7 separate regions of the Homo sapiens genome follow, and regions 2, 3, 4, 5, 6 and 7 are each linked to region 1. Evidence: promoter capture Hi-C in 16 types of primary human blood cells and fetal thymus (Javierre and others, 2016). All regions are on one chromosome and are shown on one strand. Each heading gives the region's core, a stretch centred on a gene start or on the middle of the fragment in contact. The rest is flanking DNA. Distances are from core to core; before and after follow the strand shown.

The links. The method cuts DNA at HindIII sites, captures the fragments that hold promoters and counts their contacts. A CHiCAGO score of 5 or more calls a contact.
Region 2: a fragment that was not itself captured here is called in contact with the fragment with the promoter of RUSC1 in region 1 in 4 of 17 cell types (M1 macrophages, M0 macrophages, M2 macrophages and 1 more); the score reaches 12.0 in M1 macrophages.
Region 3: a fragment that was not itself captured here is called in contact with the fragment with the promoter of RUSC1 in region 1 in 1 of 17 cell types (M2 macrophages); the score reaches 7.8 in M2 macrophages.
Region 4: a contact is called between a fragment that was not itself captured here and the fragment with the promoter of RUSC1 in region 1, in 3 of 17 cell types (M2 macrophages, monocytes and M1 macrophages). The highest score is 6.9, in M2 macrophages.
Region 5: a fragment that was not itself captured here is called in contact with the fragment with the promoter of RUSC1 in region 1 in 2 of 17 cell types (M2 macrophages and M0 macrophages); the score reaches 8.0 in M2 macrophages.
Region 6: a fragment that was not itself captured here is called in contact with the fragment with the promoter of RUSC1 in region 1 in 2 of 17 cell types (M2 macrophages and endothelial precursors); the score reaches 5.9 in M2 macrophages.
Region 7: the fragment with the promoter of YY1AP1 here is called in contact with the fragment with the promoter of RUSC1 in region 1 in 10 of 17 cell types (M1 macrophages, naive B cells, M0 macrophages and 7 more); the score reaches 8.4 in M1 macrophages.

The regions. Positions count from the first base shown.
Region 1 is chr1:155,319,566-155,322,299 of GRCh38, reverse strand. It overlaps RUSC1 (RUN and SH3 domain containing 1), which reads right to left and starts at 1,406. Exons shown (of 10, transcript NM_001105203.2): 1 at 1,309-1,406; 2 at 1-612. The coding sequence starts at 526. FDPS (farnesyl diphosphate synthase) reads right to left here. Exons shown (of 11, transcript NM_002004.4): 9 at 2,612-2,689; 10 at 2,372-2,506; 11 at 1,635-1,891. The coding sequence ends at 1,691. It overlaps RUSC1-AS1 (RUSC1 antisense RNA 1), which reads left to right. Exons shown (of 6, transcript NR_145424.1): 2 at 1-57; 3 at 605-675; 4 at 2,368-2,497. RefSeq lists an enhancer at 1-699 and a silencer at 1,315-1,464. The HindIII fragment of the contact is 14,544 bases long and covers 1-1,525 here.
Region 2 is chr1:155,814,660-155,817,393 of GRCh38, reverse strand. GON4L (gon-4 like) reads left to right here. Exons shown (of 32, transcript NM_001282860.2): 7 at 1,132-1,182; 8 at 1,494-1,589. Among named protein-coding and RNA genes, the nearest start is that of GON4L, 41 kb to the left of the region's middle. The HindIII fragment of the contact is 1,410 bases long and covers 685-2,094 here.
Region 3 is chr1:155,780,236-155,782,969 of GRCh38, reverse strand. All of the region lies in intron 14 of GON4L (gon-4 like), which reads left to right. Among named protein-coding and RNA genes, the nearest start is that of GON4L, 76 kb to the left of the region's middle. The HindIII fragment of the contact is 9,234 bases long and covers 1-2,734 here.
Region 4 is chr1:155,756,935-155,759,668 of GRCh38, reverse strand. It overlaps GON4L (gon-4 like), which reads left to right. Exons shown (of 32, transcript NM_001282860.2): 25 at 1,635-1,778; 26 at 2,346-2,489; 27 at 2,592-2,711. Among named protein-coding and RNA genes, the nearest start is that of DAP3, 69 kb to the right of the region's middle. The HindIII fragment of the contact is 8,033 bases long and covers 1-2,734 here.
Region 5 is chr1:155,722,644-155,725,377 of GRCh38, reverse strand. All of the region lies in intron 4 of DAP3 (death associated protein 3), which reads right to left. Among named protein-coding and RNA genes, the nearest start is that of DAP3, 35 kb to the right of the region's middle. The HindIII fragment of the contact is 2,795 bases long and covers 1-2,734 here.
Region 6 is chr1:155,703,444-155,706,177 of GRCh38, reverse strand. All of the region lies in intron 1 of DAP3 (death associated protein 3), which reads right to left. Among named protein-coding and RNA genes, the nearest start is that of DAP3, 16 kb to the right of the region's middle. The HindIII fragment of the contact is 5,985 bases long and covers 1-2,734 here.
Region 7 is chr1:155,687,391-155,690,124 of GRCh38, reverse strand. It overlaps YY1AP1 (YY1 associated protein 1), which reads left to right and starts at 1,351. Exons shown (of 11, transcript NM_139119.3): 1 at 1,351-1,466; 2 at 1,924-2,054. It overlaps DAP3 (death associated protein 3), which reads right to left and starts at 1,034. Exons shown (of 13, transcript NM_004632.4): 1 at 951-1,034. It also overlaps the pseudogene LOC124904430. RefSeq lists enhancers at 886-935, 1,311-1,945 and a silencer at 1,426-1,475. The HindIII fragment of the contact is 12,603 bases long and covers 1-2,734 here.

The DNA of each region.
Region 1 (2,734 bases), core at 157-2,656:
GATCGGGTGAAGAAGAAGCTCCGGAGCAGGAATCAGGAGAGCAGCAGAAGCTGTCCGGTGAGCAGGTGCCAGGGCCTGCTGAAGCCAGTGGGGAGCCCTGCTCCAGGGGGATGATACTGGGCTGAGGGTGGGCATCCTCATCACCAGGGAGGTCCCGCAAGTAGACTGAGACAGGGGACTCATCGGGGCTAAGATCTGAGCAGGAGCTGAGTGAGGAGGAGCAGCCTGGGTCTGAGGGAGAGGCAGCCCCCTCTTCCTCCTGTGACGGGTCCTGCCGGTTTTCTAGGCCCGGACCGTGCTCCTGGCAGCACCGGCAGGGCACAGCTGGGCTGTTGGAATTGGCGTCCACCAGGGTGCCACTGCAGGGGCCCCTGCTCTCCTTGCCCCCAGTGTCTCCTGGAGGAGGGGGTGTGCTCAAAGGCCCCTCCTGTAGCTCAGGACGGCGGGACAAGTGCAGGCCCAGGGAGACGTGCTGGAGGTGGATGTGGTTGAGGTTGCAGAGTAAAGCTCTCTGAGGGGACAGCATGATGCTAGCGGCGATGGGATGGCTTCTAGAGAACCAGAAGGGTAGGGTCTCTCACATCCACCTACCTGGCAACCACAGGTGCAGACCTAGAAGACAGAGGTGGTGAAGCCCGGCCAGTGAGGACAAGAGCTGCGGGGAAGGACACCGAGGTGACTTGACGGCAGCAGCAGGCCTGAAGGCTCTGGCTGCTTTGGAAGATATTTCAATGAGATGCAAATCGCAATCGACTGACCATTAGTTTCCACTGCAGTGTTTGCAGATGGAGTCGAATGTAACCCCCCGGGAATGGAGCCGGGAGGGTCAGAGAACGCGGCTGCGCTCTGGATCTCCGAAGGGGGGCGGGGGCCTGGAAGAGGTCCGGGCCCAGAATGGACCTCCAGGTCCCTGCTGCCGCAATCTGGCCCTGCCCTCCAGCCTACCCCTTACTCCCAGAGGAAGGGACCCAGGGAGACCCACCCAGATGCCCTGAAAGGAGGTGGAGGATGGGGGTGGGGCAATACGCAGAGTTTGTCTGGTGAATGCAGGAAAGGGGTGGGGGCTGGAGAGGAAAAGGATGGAGCAGCCGTCAGCTTGTCAACTCCGCATCTGCTGGCTGCCTCGGCCGGGCTCCAGCCTGCGCCCTCGCCCCTCGGAACAGCGGTATGTCCATTCTCTCCGCATTCGTCTCCATCGTTCAGCCACCACCGCACCCTTTCTCTATTCATTTCTCCTGCTCCCTTGTCCTGCCCCGCCCCTCGTGCCCAGGTCCATCGGTCTACACCCATGGGCCGAGCCCTCCTCACCAGGGTCCTCCTGGAACCGCTCCGGCCTTGGGCTTGTCCGCGGCTCCCACGGTCCCCGCCCGGCGGGGCACAGAGCGGGAGGGGAGGGGCACTAGCACAACCTACCCTGCGCTGCGCAGCTGCACCCCTTCGCGCATGGGCGTGGCGTAGCTCAGACCCGCCCCCAGCGTTTAGCGTCTTTTGTCACCCACCTAGAGGGTTTGATATATCCTAAGCTTTTGGCCCCTGGGTCCTGGTTCCGTGCAGCGAGTCCTCCCAGCACCCCACCCTGCACATTCTGGAAAGAGCCAGACTCTGGCTGGGCCGAGCAAGAACAGAACCACAAGAAGGTTACACGATTATTTATTGAGAGCCTCCTCTCCCCGCCCTTGCAATCTCTAGGTCACTTTCTCCGCTTGTAGATTTTGCGCGCAAGCCCCAGAAAGACGGCTGGGGGCAGGGGTGCTGCGTACTGTTCAATGAGAGCCATAATGTGGCTGTAACTGTCTTCCTCATATTGCAAGAACACTGCTGGCAGATCCAGCTCCTCATATAGCGCCTTCACCCGGGCCACTTTCTCAGCCTCCTTCTGCCCGTAATTTTCCTGGAAGAGGTTGAAAGACAGGAAAACGGGCTTGGCCTTCCCCAGAGCCTCCAGGACCCCTCCACTCCCCTCATTCACATATTCCAGAACATCTCCAAAGCCACCCACTCCTTTCCTCCCTCCAATTTTCAAGTGTCTCTACGTAGCTAAAATCCCAAGCTTCCCTTCCCTATCCCAAATATTGCCTCATACCAGGCATCCTCTACTCCAGGGTTTCTCCACCTTGGCACTATTGAAATTTGGGACCAGATAATCCTGTCTGGGGGAGCTGTTCTGTGTACTACATGTTTGGCAACATCTTTGGCTCCTGCCAACTAGATGTCTGTACCACATGCACACACACAGAGTTGTAATGACAATGGCAAAAAATGTCTGCTGACATTGCCAAATGTCCCCTCGGGAGGAAAACTGCCTCTAGTTGAGAACCACTGCTCTATCCCTTTCCACCAACTCAGGGACCCACCACCCTCTCTCAGGCACCTTCAGGATCTGGTACTGTTCTGGAGTGGCCCGTTGCAGACACTGAACCACCAGCCAGCTGCATTTGTTGTCCTGGATGTCAGTGCCAATTTTGCCGGTCACACTGGGGTCCCCAAAGAGGTCAAGGTAATCATCCTGGGCAGGGAGGGGGAGGGCAGCAAAAGAGGAAGGATGAGGTTCCTGGGCAGAGGAGGAGTGAAGCTGGTGCCTGTTCTCTGCTACTGCCTCCTGCCTTCTTACCTGAATCTGAAAGAACTCCCCCATCTCCAGCAGGATCTTCTTGGCATTGGCGTGCTCCTTCTCGCCATCAATTCCTGCCTGCAGGGAAAGGGGGGTTAATAAGCCAAACCCCAGGGGTGCCGG
Region 2 (2,734 bases), core at 140-2,639, 500 kb before region 1:
TAAGGTGCTTTTGGTTGGGTTACAATTAAATGGTCAAGAAATTATACATCCTCAATGGCATTTTATCAGCAGTATATAAGAACTTTAAAAAAGTTCTTTAGGCTAGATGTGGTGGCTCACACCTATAATCCCAGTGCTTTGAGAGGCTAAGGTGGGAGGATTGTTTGAGCCCAGGATTTTGAGACCAGCCTGGGAAACCTAATGAGACTCCATCTCTACAAAAAATTTAAAAAATTAGTGAGGCCTGGTGAGGAGGCATGCCTGTAGTCCTAGCTAATTAGTAGGCTGAGGCAGGAGGATCGCTTGAGCTCAGGAATTTGAGGCTGCAGTGAGCTCTGATTGTGCTGCTGCTCTAGCCTAGGCAACAGGGCAAGATCCTGTCTCAAAACAAAAACAAAAACAAGAAAAACTTTCCCCCTAGCTCTTATAAAAATTTTCAAACATTCAAAAAGTTGAAAGATTGTTACAATGAATCTAAATTCCAAGAGTAATATTTTGCCATATTTGCTTTATATCTCTCTGTGTTGTTTTTTCCTGTACTATTGGAAAAATAAGTGTGGACAACATGAAACTTTGCCCTAAATGCCCTGGTAAAAGCTTTTTTTTTTTTTTTTTTTTTTAAGAAAAAAAAAAGCCCATAGGCAGAGCAGGGCTACCCCATAGGCAGAATAGTCCATAAAAGCTTTTCATGGCTGGCTTTTTGGAGTTGTACTTATGGTGGATTCATGTAACTGATTACAAAAATATATTGCTGTTAAAAGACTACTGTAACCAAAATATCTTAGGTTTGTGTAGTTTAATAGTTTATAAATAGTTGTCACATCTGTTGTTCCATGTAAACCGCAGCTGTGATATGAACAAGGTAGACATTGTTTTCTTCATTTATAGAAAGAAGTGAGGCTTACCAGGTGTAAGGCAGAAATGCTAATGACAGTAATAGATTCTTTCCTGGTTTCTTCTTTCTAACTCTGACAAATAATTGAGAGTATACCCTCAGGGATAATCAACACCTCTAGATCACTGCAGTTACTTGTTAAGTATATGGCTGTTAGTGATGGTACAGAGGAAGTAAACATGAAAAACAATTATTTCAGTTAAGATAACTTAATTATTTATATTCTTTGTTGGTAGGTAATTCCAACATGGAATATTTCACCAATTAAGAAGGCCAATGAAATTAAGGTAAACTTGGAAGAAATAATTGTTATTCTTTTCCAGAAAGACTTCATCGGTTTTGAAACTTAAGTACTTCCTCTTTAACTTTTCTTGATCAATCTTTGTTTTAATTCCAGCTTTGTTTTTTTCCATTCTATTACTCTTAGGTTTGTATCTCATGGAATTCACTTTAACCTCTGCCTCGTGTTATTTGCTTTAGCTGTACATTATGCTCTTAGGATTTTTTTTTTTTCTGCCCTGCTTCTTCCCCTTATTTTCCAAATACGTATGATTTGTGTTTCCCATTACTTCATTTCTTTCTAATTGTACTAATGTAGCCTCCTCAGTTTGTGGATATCCACCTTGAAGAAGATGATTCCTCAGATGAAGAATACCAGCCGGATGATGAAGAAGAAGATGAAACTGCTGAAGAGGTCAGTGAATGTTAGTTGGTAATATTTGTCTTAATAGAGCAGGGTATACTTTGCTTCCTTAGTAATGTCACTTGTAGAGAGGATTGAGACATGGTTCTTTTTTCAGCTCATTTCTGTGCTTTAAGCTGTTTTTCTGCCCTTTATACTCCCTTAATTTTAGAATTTGTTGTATTATGAAATACAGCATAGAAACGTGCATAGAATAAAAATGTATAGCTTTGGTTATTATAATGCAAATCCTCATGAAACTCATAGCAAAGTCAAGAAATATATCATTACTAGGACAACCCCTGTATACCCTCCCCAGTCACAATCACCTCCCTCCCCCTAAAAATAACCACTACCCTGCCTTTTAGTAATTATTTCTTTGCTTTTCTTTATAGTTGTATCACCTCAATATGTATCTCTACACACTGTAGTTCAATTGTTACTGTTTTGAACTTTATATAAATGGACCCATGTTTATATGTTTTGTTCCTAGCTTTTTAAAATTCAACATTAAGCTTTTGAGATTCATTTATACTATTGGTTTTAGCTATACTTCGTTCCCTTTCATTGCTGTGTTAATATGTTCTTTGACTTGTTTCTTAATGTGTTCTTTGAATTGTTTTGTAAAAGGATTTTAGACCAAGGCCTTACACTTTGTAATGCAGATTAGGATAGTGATCTGATCCCTGTCCCCACCTTTAGGATTTTTTTTTTGAGTCTCCTCTGTTGCCCATGGAGTGCAGTGTGCGATGTTGGCTCACTGCCATCTCCATCTCCCGGGTTCAGGCAAGTCTCCTGCCTCAGCCTCCTGAGTAGCTGGAATTAACAGGCGTGCGCTACCATGCCTGGCTAATTTTTGTATTTTTAGTAGAGATGGGGTTTCGCCATGTTGGCCAGGCTGGTCTCGGACTTCTGACCTCAAGTGATCCACCCGCCTCGGCCTTCCAAAGTGCTGGGATTACAGGCATAAGACACTGACTGCACCTGGCCTTTAAGTTTCTATTTAAATTTTATTTTCTGTTACTGTAACTAGTTGAGTGATGGATTTTATTTATTTATTTATTTATTTTTGAGACAGAGTCTCGCTCTGCCACCCAGGCTGGAGTGCAGTGGCGTGATCTCGGCTCACTGCAACCTCCATCTCCTGGATTCAAGTG
Region 3 (2,734 bases), core at 112-2,611, 460 kb before region 1:
TGGGAAGTGTAGGCTGGGCGCAGTGGCTCATGCCTGTAATCCCTGCACTTTGGGAGGCGGAGGCAGGGGGATCACCTCAGGTTAGGAGTCGAGACCAGCCTGGCCAACATGGTGAAACCCCATCTCTACTAAAAATACAAAAATTAGCCAGGCATGGTGGCGGGTGTGTGTAATCCCAGCTACTCAGGAGGCTGAGGCAGGATACTCACTTGAACCCGGAAAGCGGAGGTTGCAGTGAGCTGAGATGACAGCCTGCTTGACAGAGAGAGACTCTGTCTCAAAAAAATAAAATAAAATAAAATAAATAAAATTTGTAAAGTATAGAAATAATTTAAAACTCTTGTTAGAATTCAGTTACCTTCTGGTATTCAGTAGAATACAGTCATATATCATCTCATGGTGATACATTCTGTGAAATGTTATCATTAAACGATTTCATCATTGTGTAGAAAGCACTTGGATAAACCTAGATGGTTTAGCCTACTGCATACCTAGGCTATACGGTATAACATATTGCTCCCAGGCCACAAACCTGTATAGCATGTTATTCTGCTGAATATTGTAGGCAGTTGTAACACAATGGTAAGTACATATGTATGTAAACATAGAAAAGGTACAGTAATCTTATGGAGCCATCTCTGAATATGTGGTTCATTATTGACTGAAACATTATGTGGCACATGACTGTACTTGGGCAGCTGCTGCTTCTCTTTCAGTTGCAAATGCAAACCTGTTATAATCTTTGACTAAATAAAGCATCCTGGATTCTGTAAGTCCATAGATAGTAAAAACTTCTTAAAACACAATAAAGAAGAGAGAGGAAAAAAAAGAACAAAACAAAAACCCTGGGAAAGTGAGTTATCTGTGCTTCCCTTGTCAGTTATCCAAGTAATACTTATTAAAACTAGGTGCAAGGCCACGTGTGGTGACTCACACCTGTAATCTCAGCACTTTGGGAGGCTAAGGCAGGCAGATCACTTTAGGTCAGGAGTTCAGACCAGCCTGGTCAACATGGTGAAACCCCATCTCTACTAAAAATACAAAAATTAGCTGGGTGTGGTGGCACACGCCTGTAATCCCAGCTACTTGGGAGGCTGAGGCAGGAGAAACACTTGAACCCTGGAGGCGGAGGTTGCACTGAGCTGAGATTGTGCCACTGTACTCCAGCCTGGGCAACAGAGTGAAACTGTCTCTCAAAAAATAATAATAGGCCGGGTGCGGTGGCTCACGCCAGTAATCCCAGCATTTTGGGAGGCCAAGGCAGGCGGATCACAAGGTCAGGAGTTTGAGACCAGCCTGACCAACATGGTGAAACCCCGTCTCTACTAAAAATAAAAAAATTAGCCAGGCATGGTAGCACTCGCCTGTAATCCCAGCTACTCAGGAGGCTGAGGCAGGAGAATCGCTTGAACCCAGGACGCAGAAGTTGCAATGAGCCAAGATCATGCCACTGCACTCCATCCTGAGAGAGAGAAAAAGACTCCATCTCAAAAAATAATAATAATAATAATAATAATAATTATAGATCAGGCGTGGTGGCTGGCACCTGTAATCCCAGCACTTTGGGATGCCGAAGCAGGCATATCACCTGAGGTCAGGAGTTCGAGACCAGCTTGGCCAACATGGCGAAACCTTGTCTCTACTAAAAATGCAAAAAAAATTAGTCGGACGTGTTGGCAGGTGCCTGTAATCCCCGCTACTTGGGAGGCTGAGGAAGGAGAATTGCTTGAACCTGGGAGGCAGAGGTTGCAGTGAGCCGAGACCACTCCATTGCACTCCAGCCTGGGCAATAGGAACGAAACTCCATCTCAAAAAAAAATAATAGTAATAATAATAATAATAATAAAAAATACAACTACGTGCAGGCTATGTTTTCATTACCTACTTTTTTATGCTTCTGGTCTTCTGTTCCTTCAGTGGTAGTAGTGCAGGTGATCAGGTTTTCAGTTCTCAGAAGATTGCATAAGACAGTCCCACAGGCTTTAGGTTTTTACCCTGTGCTGCCCAAACCCACAGTAAATACTATAAAAGAAAGAATGATTTTTATCCCCAATAGATAAATGATAACTTTTAAAAATTAACTATTGAAAACACTTATTTATCTATTGCTGTAATATTGGAGATTACTTGAAATATGATAACCTGCTTGTTGTAACTACATCAGCAGGTCTTATCCTGATTGCATAGGGTATCAGCACGTGCTTAATCACTTAAGTATCTTTTTCTCCTTTTACTTCAGAACTGTCATGCTGGGTTTTTCAGTTTTTGCTTCAGCCCTGGAAACAGTCTCTCAGGAGGGTAGGGGTGGGAAGTTAGGGTTAGGAACCTTAGAAGAGGAATTTATTTTATTTATTTATTTATTTTATTTTATTTTTTTGAAATGGAGTCTTGCTCTATCGCCCAGGCTGGAGTGCAGTGGCGCGATCTCGGCTCACTGCAACCTCTGCCTCCCGGGTTCAAGTGATTCTCCTGCCTCAGCCTCCCAAGTAGCTGGGATTACAGGCACGCATCACCACGGCCAGCTAATTTTCGTATTTTTTCATAGAGACAGGGTTTCGCCATGTTAGCCAGGCTAGTCTCGAACCACTGACCTAAAGTGATCCACCTGCCTTGGCCTCCCAAATTGCTGGCATTACTGGCTTGAGCCACCACGCCCGACTGTTTCTTGACCTTTTAATAATTGTCATTCTGACTGGCAAGGCTTGCTTTCTTAACAAGTCAAAAATCTTCTAGC
Region 4 (2,734 bases), core at 235-2,734, 440 kb before region 1:
TCTGCATATAATGTGTGATGCCCATTTTCTCTTCTGGTATTATGAGGTTCCAATCAGTGTATACGTGAACAAAAAAAAAAATTTTTTTTTTTTTGAGATGGAGTTTCACTCTTGTTGCCCAGGCTGGAGTGCAGTGGCGTGATCTCGGCTCACTGCAACCTCCGCCTCCTGGGTTCAAGCGATTTTCCTGCCTCAGCCTCCCGAGTAGCCGGGATTACAGGCATGCGCCACCACCACGCCTGGCTAATTTTGTATTTTTAGTAAAGACGGGGTTTCTCCATGTTGGTCAGGCTGGTCTCGAACTCCAGACCTCAGGTGATCTGCCCACCTCGACCTCCCAAATTGCTGGGATTACAGGTGTGAGCCACCACACTTGGCCAAAAAATTTTTTTAAAGAGATAATGTCAGCCAGGTATGGTGGCTCACACCTGTTATCCCAGCACTTTGGGAGGCCAGCCTGGACAACATAGCAAGACCCCATCTTTACATAAAATAAAAAAATTAACTAACTGGGTGTGGTGGTGCACACCTTTGGTCCCAGCTATTTGGGTGGCTGAGGTGGGAGGACCACTTGAGCCTGAGAGGTTGAGGCTTCACTCAGCCATGATTGCTCCACTACACTCCAGTTTGGGTGACAAGAGCAAGACCTTGTCTCAAAAACAAAAAAGAGAGAGACAATGGCCAGACACAGTGGCTGGCATCTGTAATCCCAGCACTTTGGGAGGCTAAGGTGGGAGGATCCCTTGTAGCCAGGAGTTTTGTTGTTGTTGTTTTATTGTTGTTGTTTTTTGAGGCAAAGTCTGACTCTGTCACCCAGGCTGGAGTGCAGTGGTGTGATCTCTGCTTACTGCAACCTCTGCCTCCCAGGTTCAAGTGATTCTCCTGCCTCAGCCTTCCGGGTAGCAGGGATTACAGGCATGCATGACCGCACCTATCTAATTTATGTATTTTTAGTAGAGATGGGGTTTCACCATGTTGGTCAGGCTGGTCTCGAACTCTTGACCTCAGGTGATTTGCCTACCTCGGCTTCCCGAAGTGCTGGGATTACAGGCATCAGCCACCACAGCTGGCCTGTAGACAGGAGTTTGAGATGAGCCTGGACAACACAGGCCCCTGGGATCCTCCTGCCTCAGCCTCCCAAGTAGCTCAAGCTACAGGTGTACACCACGGCCCCTGCCTAATTTTTAAATTTTTTTGTAGAGACATAGTCTCAGTATGTTGCTGTTCTTGAACTCCTGGCCTTAAGCGATCCTCCTGCCTTGGCCTCCCAACATGGGATTACAGCTATGAGCCACCTTGTGCAGCCTGAAAGTTCTTTGTAATATAAACTCTAAAGTATCATATGAATTTTGGTGGCTGATTTCACAATCCTTAAAACAGCAAACAACTTGAAATATATACATCTCTTGAAGCTGTTGCTCACATCTTAATTGCTTTGGGTGGCTACCCACCAGTGGCCCAAGGTGGATGGAGGTTAGGGTTTTAAATTAGATCTCAATAGTTGTAAACTAGAATTTTAAACCAGGGTTCTGTCATCTCTTGTGTCCTAGTCCACTAGTTCTTATCCTTAGAACCCTCAAGTCCTGCTCTAGCTGTATCATGACTCCTCTTTTGCCCACTTTCCACTCTGGTAGTTTGAGGAGCAGCAGGCTTTTGAGAAGAGCCGCAAGTTCCTTCGGCAGCTGGAGATTTGCTTTGCAGAGAACCCCTCACACCACCAGAAGATTATCAAGGTCCTCCAAGGCTGTGCAGACTGCCTTCCCCAGGAGATCACCGAGGTATTCTTTCCTGTCCTGCTTTCTTCCTGTTGTCTTCCGGGCCTTAGGCCTTTCCCTTGTCTCTTTCCCCAACCTACTCCATACCTTTTTGCCTCTGGAGGCTCATGGGCTTCCTGGAGGAGATGAAAAAGGCAAGGACTTTTCAGGCTCACCCAAAGCATAAAGCACTGGGATAGGGAGGGATTGCTACCTGAAACCGGAGCCTGTCTGATCTTCACAGGCTCAGGAATGCCATGGATGTGCTGGAAGGGATGTTCAGCGAAGGAGGTTCTGGGACCTGGGAGGGGCCTTACCTCCTTGCTCTGCTTGGAATAGTGCCCTAGCTGGAGATCAGTAGGGTGGAGTGGAGAGTGGAATCATTAGGAATCAAATCCAGTATTAGTACCCTTCCCCTATAGGCAGCTAAGGAGGAAGAGAAAGTTTTAGTATTCTTTGTTACCAGGCAGAGTCTCTGTGTGTTTCCCAGTTGACTGGGAAAGCAGAACATGGAAGTATGTGGGATTGATTGGGAAGGGCAGCCTAGAGAGGCTCTGGAGACTTCCTCTTTCCCTCTGTGACTCTCCTCAGCTCAAGACACAGATGTGGCAGCTCCTCAAGGGCCACGACCACCTGCAGGATGAGTTTTCTATCTTCTTTGACCACTTGCGCCCAGCAGCTAGCCGGATGGGTGACTTTGAAGAGATCAATTGGACTGAGGAAAAGGAGTATGAGGTATAGGACCTAAGGCTGCTGTAGCCTTATGAAGGGGGAAGGCCACACGTGGGAGGGATATTGGCCTGGTGTCTGTGCTCAGCAGCACCAACTCCTTCTCAGTTTGATGGCTTTGAAGAAGTGGCCCTGCCTGATGTGGAAGAAGAGGAGGAGCCTCCCAAGATACCCACAGCCTCAAAGAACAAGAGGAAAAAAGAGATCGGGGTCCAAAATCATGATAAGGTATTTTCTTTGTTTATTTGTTT
Region 5 (2,734 bases), core at 128-2,627, 400 kb before region 1:
TAAAGTAGGAAAGAAGGAAAGAGTGGGTGGGTGTGGAAGGAGTGGGTGGGGGGTGGTATATATACTCTGCCTAAAGTGGCAACCAAGACCATCAGATTGCATGCCTCTAATTTACTCAGTTAGGAGAAGCTGGGTTGGTACTGAGTTTGAAAATCTATCCATATAACTTAGCTAAAAACTGAAATACATTATTCCGCACTAAGTAACATGATAGTCAGCTTTTGATTATTCCTATTACTGAAGCATATATTCTATCTCAGCTGAAATCTATAAATAATTGATATATCTCATAACAAAATTATGTATACCACTTAGGGCCACTGTAAATATGGAAAGCATATAGAAAAATGCTTAAAATTTCTGACACAAGTTAATAATTCAATAAACATTAACTCTTTAAATTTTTTTTCTTTTTTTTTTTTTGAGACGGAGTTTCACTCTTGTTGCCCAGGCTGGAGTGCAATGGCACGATCTCGGCTCACCACAACCTCTGCCTCCCAGTTCAAGTGATTCTCCTGCCTCAGCCTCCCGAGTAGCTGGGATTACAGGCACCCACCACCATGCCCGGCTATTTTGTATTTTTAGTACAGAAGGAGTTTCTCCATGTTGGTCAGGCTGGTCTCAAACTCCCGACCTCAGGTGACACCCCCGTCTTGGCCTCCCAAAGTGCAGGGATTACAGGCGTGAGCCACTGCACCTGGCCTAAAATTTATTTTTAGTTGATTTTTTTTTTTTTTCTTTTTTTGAGACAGAGTCTCACTCTGTCACCCAGGCTAGAGTGCAGTGGTGTGATCTCGGCTCACTGCAACCTCCGCCTCCGGGGTTCAAGCAATTCTTCTGCCTCAGTCTCCTCAGTAGCTGGGATTACAGGTGCCACCACCATGCCAGGCTGATTTTTGTAATTTTAGTAGAGACAGGCTTTCACCATGTTGGTCAGGCTGGTCTCGAACTCCTGACCTCATGATCCACCCGTCTCAGCCTCCCAAGGTGCTGGGATTATAGGCGTGAGCCACCGCACCTGGCCTAAAATTTATTTTTATTACTTTAACCATTTAGACTTTTTTCTCTAGAACTAAATACATGGCGGCTCAGGAGCAGGTGTGACCAGCTGCCTCACAACTCTAAGGCCATCCATACCTCATACCTCCAGCATACTAACCTTTCAGAGTTTAATTCCCCTTTTGCTACCAGAATACTTTGGTGGGAAATTTGGGAAGTACTAATGTGTGTGAAACTGATTTGCAAAGAAAATATTAAAATATGTCTACTAATAAGAATATCTAACAAATACTGTTTGTAAGTATAACTAAAATAGTGTTAATTTTTTTTTTTTTTTTTTGAGACAGAGTCTCGCTCTGTCGCACAGGCTGGAGTGCAGTGACACGATCTCAGCTCACTGCAACCTCCGCCTCCCGGGTTCAAGCGATTCTCCTGCTTCAGCCTCACAAGTAGCTGTGACTACAGGCGTGTGCCACCACGCCCAGCTAATTTTTGTATTTTTAGTAGAGATGGAGTTTCACCATGTTGGCCAGGCTCATCTTGAACTCCTGGCCTTAAGTAATCTGCCCACCTCAGCTTCCCAAAGTGCTGGAATTACAGGCGTGAGCCATTGTACCCAGCCAGTGTTGATATTTTTAAAAGAAATCCTAACAAAACAATTGAATTGGTGTAGGATTTGACAGGCAATTCCAAACTTAATGGAAGGCTCAATGTTCAAAAAAACATGATAAAGGTATTAAAACAAATGTTGGCTGGGCGTGGTGGCTCATCCCTGTAATCCCAGCACTTTGGGAGGCCAAGACAGGTGGATCACCTGAGGTTAGGAGTTGGAGACCAGCCTGGCCAATATGGCAAATCCCCATGTCTACTAAAAATATAAAAATTAGCCAGGCGTGGTGGCGAGCACCTGTAATCCCAGCTCTTTGGGAGGCTGAGGCAGGAGAATCACTTGAACCCAGGAGGCGTAGGTTGCAGTGAGCTGAGATCGCATCACTGCATTCCAGCCTGGGCGACAAAAGTGAAACTCCATTTCAAAAAAAAGTCACATCAGGGCTGGGAGCTGTGGCTCACACCTGTAATCCCAGCACTTTGAGATGCCAATACAGGAGGATCGCTTGAGCCCAGGAGGTCAGAGATGTAGAGTGTGCTGTGGGCTGTGGTCACGCCACTGTACTCCAGCCTGGTTGTCAGAGTGAGACCCTGTCTCTATAATTAAAATAATAGTAATAAAATAAAGTCAGCTACCCTGGGCACACTGTCCGTGAGTTAGGTCTGCTCCAAAAGGAGCAGTATTTAAAAAAAAAAAAGTCATATTAGGCAGTATGACAATGCTAATATCCACAAACAATGGTGAGGAAGTAGGCCTTCATGTAAATGAAAATTATGAAAAGAACCTGTAAGTTCTTACAGAGCATTGTTGGTTAAGCCAGTCTGAAAACAACTTCAAATAGTTAATTAAAGATAGAACCTCACAGCTCTGAAGCTGAATAAACATTGTACTGTGTATGTCTTGGAACAGTTTAAAGTGCCACTGCAGATGATTTCTTCAACAAAATTTTTTTTAATTAAAATTGTTTTTTGGAGACAGGGTCTCACTCTGTTGTCTGAGTTGGAGTGCCGTGGCACTATCGTAGCTCACTGCAGCCTGAACTCCTGGGCTCAAGCCATCCTCCTGCCTCAGCCTCCGAAGCAGCTACCACACATGACTAAATGTTTTTCTTTTTTTTTGAGTGAG
Region 6 (2,734 bases), core at 133-2,632, 380 kb before region 1:
AAAAAAATTAATTAGTTTGCCAGGGTGGTGCAGGACTGTAGTCGTAGCTACTTAGGAGGCTGAGGCAAAAGGCTCACTTGAGGCCAGGTGTTAAAGAGCTATGATCATGCCACTGTACTCCAGCCTGCATGATACACTCAGATCTGGTCTAAATAAATAGATAAATAAATGAAAAGAGGCCAGGTGCAGTGGTTCATACCTGTGATCCTAGTATTTTGGGAGGCCGAGATGGATGGACTGCCTGAGCTCAGGAGTTCAAGACCAGCCTGGACAATATGGTGAAACCCTATCTCTACTAAAATATAAAAAATAAGCCTGGCATGGTGGTGCATGTCTGTTTTCCCAGCTACTCAGGAGGCTGAGGCGGGAGAATCGCTTGAACCCAGGAGGCAGAGGTTGCAGTGAGCTGAGATTGCGCCATTGCATGCCAGCCTGGGTGACAGAGCAAGACTCCATCTCAAAAAATAAATAAATAAATAAATAATATTTAAAAATAAATAAAAAGAGAGAGAGAATAACATAAATTCCTTTCATTTTATTTCCTTTCTGTTTTTTTTTTCTTTCTTTTTTTTTTTGAGACAGGGTCTCGCTCCATTGCCCAGGATGGGGTGCAATGGCAAGATCACAGCACACTGTAGCCTCAAACTCTTGGGTTCAAGTGATCCGCCTGCCTCAGCCTTTCAAGTAGCTGGGAATATAGGTGCCATTGCCTGGCATATTAAAAAAAAAATTTTTTTTTTTTTGGGTAGACATAACCCTTGCTATGGTGCCCAGGATGGTCTTGAACTCCTGGGCTCAAGTGATCCTCCTGCCTCAGCCTCCCAAAGTGCTGGGATTACAGGTGTGAGCCACCATGCTCTGCTTCAACTTTATCACATTTGTTATTTTTCTTGAGACAGGGTCTTGCTCTGTCATCCAAGCTGGAATACAGTGGCACAATCACAGCTCACTGCAGCCTCGAACTCCCCTGCTTAAGTGATCTTCCCACCTCAGCCTCCCAAGTAGCTGGAATTACAGGCACGTGCCACTGTGCCTGGCTTTTTTATTTTGTAGAGACAGAGTCTCATTATGTTGCCAGCGATGGTCTTGAACTCCTGGACTCAAGTGATCCTCCCACCTCAGCCTCTCGAAGTGCTGGGATTACAGGTATGAGCCATCGCACTTGGCCTTAAATATACTGGATTCGTTTGTTTATTTCTGAGATGGAATATTGCTCTGTCGCCCAGGCTGGAGTGCAGTGGCATGATCTCGGCTCACTGCAACATCCACTTCCCGAGTTCAAACAGTTCTCCTGCCTCAGCCTCCCAAGTACCTGGGACTACAGGCGCCCGCCACCACGCCAGCTTATTTTTGTATTTTTAGTAGATACAGGGTTTCGCCATGTTGGCTAGGCTGTTCTCAAAATTTTGACCTTAAGTGATCCTCCCGCCTCAGCCCCCCAAAGTATTGGGATTACAAGCATAAGCCACCTGCCCAGCCATACTATTTAATGAAGACGCCAAAGCACTCCTAAACTCAGTCATTCAAGAAGCATATGACATGCTTCCACACGCCCACACTACACAGAGTCTATAGTGGTGAATAAGACTGGGATGGTCTCTACTGGCCTGCCTGCCTTTTCACTTGTGGGATTTCAGGGCTCCTTTTCTAGAGTGCAATGTCACTCCAATAGTATTTGACCTGCCCCACTGTGCTCCCCAGATCTTCTCAATGCTCCCCGGCACAACCACTACTGGAAGAGCTGTGGACTAGGAAGCAGGCTGGGTACTGGAGAGGAAGGAGTGTGTGACATGGTCCAGATGCACTTCTTTCCATAGGCGTGCCTGTGGACACTGGAGCTATTATTTTGCCTATGTTATAGACACTATGAGAAATGACGGTCAGAACGTGTAATCAGCTTCCGTTCTAGGACACTATCATCTTGAACCCAAATTAAAATAAATGATCTACCAGCATCCAGACTTAAACATTTTCTCCACTGAAGCCTTGCTTAAAATTCTTCAGTATTTCCTCACTACTTGATTATTTTGTGAGATCGGGTCTCAGTCTGTTGCCCAGGCTGGAGTGCAGTGGCACAATCTAGGCTCACTGCAGCCCCTAACTCCTAGGATCAAGTAATCCTCCTTTCTCAGCCTCCTAAGTAACTGGGACTACAGGCATGTGCAACCACCTGGTGGCTAATTTTTTATTTTTACAGAGATGGGGTCTGGCTATGTTGCCTGGGCTGATCTCTAACTCCTGGCCTCAAGTAATCTTCCTGCCCTAGCCTCGCAAAGTGCTGAGATTGCAGGCGCGAGCCACTATGCCTGGCCCTCACTAGTTTTCAAGTTAAAAAAGTCTAGGTCAGGCGCAGTGGCTCACACCTGTAATCCCAGCACTCTGGGATGCCAACGTGGGTGGATCACGAGGTCAGAAGATCGAGACCATCCTGGCTAACACGGTGAAACCCCATCTCTACTAAAAATACAAAAAATTAGCTGGGTGTGGTGGCGGGCGCCTGTAGTCCCAGATACTCAGGAGGCTGAGGCAGGAGAATTGCTTGAGCCCGGGAGGCAGAGGTTGCCGTGAGCCAAGTTCATGCCACTGCACTCCAGTCTGGGCGACAGAGCAAGACCCTGTCTTAAGAAAAAACTTGTCAAGCTGATTTGGTTTGGCTGTGTCCTCACCCAAATCTCATCTTGAATTTCAGCTCCCATAATTCCCATGTGTTGTAGGAGGGACCCCATGGTAGATA
Region 7 (2,734 bases), core at 102-2,601, 370 kb before region 1:
AATCAAGTCATTGATACAACTATTTAACAAGACGCCCGGCCTGCTTTGTTTTATTAACGACTTGGAGGGACAGAACACTACCCATTACACCCACAAACGTTATCGACATCAACAGAACTGTAAATGACAACACGGCAATACTCTGCACCTTCCCTATGCCTAGGAGCTAATTCCACTTTACATATATTATTATTTCGTGTGTGTGTGTGTGTGTGTGACGGAGTCTCGCTTTGTCGCCAGGCTGGAGTGCAGTGGCGCGATCTCGGCTCACTGCAACTTCCGCCGCCCGGGTTCAAGCAATTCTCCTGCCTCAGCCTCCCGAGTAGCTGGGGCTACAGGCGCCCGCCACCACGGCCGGCTAATATTTGTATTTTTAGTAGAGACGGGGTTTCACCATGTTGGCCAGGATTGTCTCGATCTCTTCACCTTGTCATCCACCTGCCTCGGCCTCCCAAAGTGCTGGGATTACAGGCGTGAGCCACCGCGCCCAGCCCTATCTTATTATTTCACACACCAACCCTGGAGGCATGTTTGGAGTTGCCTAATTTTTATGTACACTTTTTGATAAGGAACTAACAAAAATAACTTGCTGAAGACAAGGGAAACTGAGTCCAGAACTGAATGAGAAGCACATGGTTTCTTCATCCTCCATCACCAGGCTGTCTAACGAGGCTGAAGTACCATCCATGAGTAAGTGCGTCAAGGGCAAACAAACATCATCGCATATGGACAGTGGTGTGAAATTCGAGAAATCCGAGGAGGGTTAACAACAACAAAAAGCACACCACCACGCCGAACTTCCTCGGGTCCCAGGTTGGCAACTCAACGCCCGGGAGGAATCCCCCCCGGAGGCGCGCCGGTCTACCGGCCTCACTCCCTACCTCCTGGAGGTCCGGAGTCCCGCTCCTTTCCCTCAGCGGTACAATACCCGTGTCGGTCCATTCCCTCACCGTGAGTCGAGGACTAGTTCTCCAGACTAGGCGACCGACACACGCTGCCTGGGGCCGGCTCCAAAGCGCCCGTCCTGAGACTGCAAAAAAGGGTCGGGTCATCCGGCAGGAAACGACTCAACGCGCAGCCGCCGCGGCCTCCAACCACCGGCCGGCAGAGGGGCGCTAGGCCGCCCTCGATCCCCTCGCCGCGGTCCCATGGAGGAGGAGGCGAGCCGCAGCGCCGCGGCGACGAACCCAGGGAGGTAGGTTGTCATGGGACTCGGCCGGCCACCCTGGCAATTCCAGTCAAACGGCAAGCCAGACTCGCTTTGCCGGTCCCTTCCTCTCCTGCCCCTGCAGCCGCCAGGAATGGAACAGTCCCGCGGTGGGGACTGTGGGAGGCGCACGCGCGAGGAGTGTAGGGTGGGGGTGCTGGCGGCGGCTGCTTTGGCGGCGGTTGGTGGCCGTGCGGGCGGGGAGGGAGGGGGAGGAGAGAAGAGGAGGTGGAGAAGGCTTGGGCTCGCGCCGCTGAAGGTACGCGTGAGGGCCTGCGCTGGAGCCGGCTTGACAGGGTCTGAGGGGGAGTGGAGAACTGGGCGAGGAGGTTCCCGTGGGTGAGCGCGTACGGGATGGCTGGCTCGCAGGACGGCCGAAGGTGGTGGTTGGTGGGAGCAGCCAGCGACGAGCCCGTAGACACTCGTACGCGTGCGGGCTGACGTGCGCGCTACATGGCCGGAGTCGGGCGAAGCGGGGGACCGTGGGGAAGAACGCGAGGAGGGAGGAGTGGGAGGTTGGGGGTGTCGCTAGGCGCCCTTAGCTCCCTCCCTCTGGAGGAGCTGCCGCGGCCACTCTGCTGCCGCCGCTGCCGCCGCCATTTTGGGTTCGCTTTGCGAGGGGAAACGATCCCAGTGTCGGTTGCGGGATCCGCCTCCTCTCAGTTTGCCCCTTTAGCCCTCCACCTTTCCCTTCTCCTCTCTCGCATTTCCGCCAGTCGGCTTACCCGCTGGCCGCCTCCTGACAAGCGGGAGGGATCCGCGGTGGACCCAGGGAAGCGGAGGAGCCTGGCGGCCACCCCCTCTTCCTCACTTCCCTGTACTCTCATCGCTCTCGGCCTCCGACACGGTGAGTAGAACGATTTGGGCCGGCATTCGGGCCTAAGCACTCTCTCAGCGATTGAATCCTGGGCTTTCTGGGAGCCACTGTCATCTCCCGGACCTGGACCTCTGGGAGAGCAGTGGTGAAGATGGGGGAGGGGAGAGCAGGGAGGGGGATCCTGAGCCTACCGGGAAGTCCCTCCAGGCGGGGTGAAGGGGTGTCCCTGACAGGCAGACTCCCGGAGGGGGCTGGGAAGTAAGCGAGTGGAGGCGGAGTCGGCTGTGCCCCTGACAGGTTAGTTTGTGTTTGTAGGCATGATCGGAGCCTCCCCCATAGTCCAGTTTGTGTGTGTTTAATTAAGGGATAAGAGTGGTCGAGGACACGATCTTGAGAGGGGATTTTACCTGTGTGACAAGGTCTGTGGTGTCCCTGCCGCGTTGAACGGTATGTGGGAACGACAGGATGATCTCAGTGTTGTACGTTTAATAAATGTCACTGGTTAGTTTGTACATGGAAAGAGATGTTTTTGGTCTAGCAGACAGATGGTCTGTTGGTGTGTAGCGGCTGTGTTGGTGTGTGTATGTGAGGATGGCAAGTGTTTCCGTAAGAGTTTGCCTTTATTTGTGTAAGTGTAATGGAGTTCCCCTTATAAGTTAGCTTATTTCTTGAATAAATGTTGGGAGGTTCCTTGCAGGTTGATATGTGTG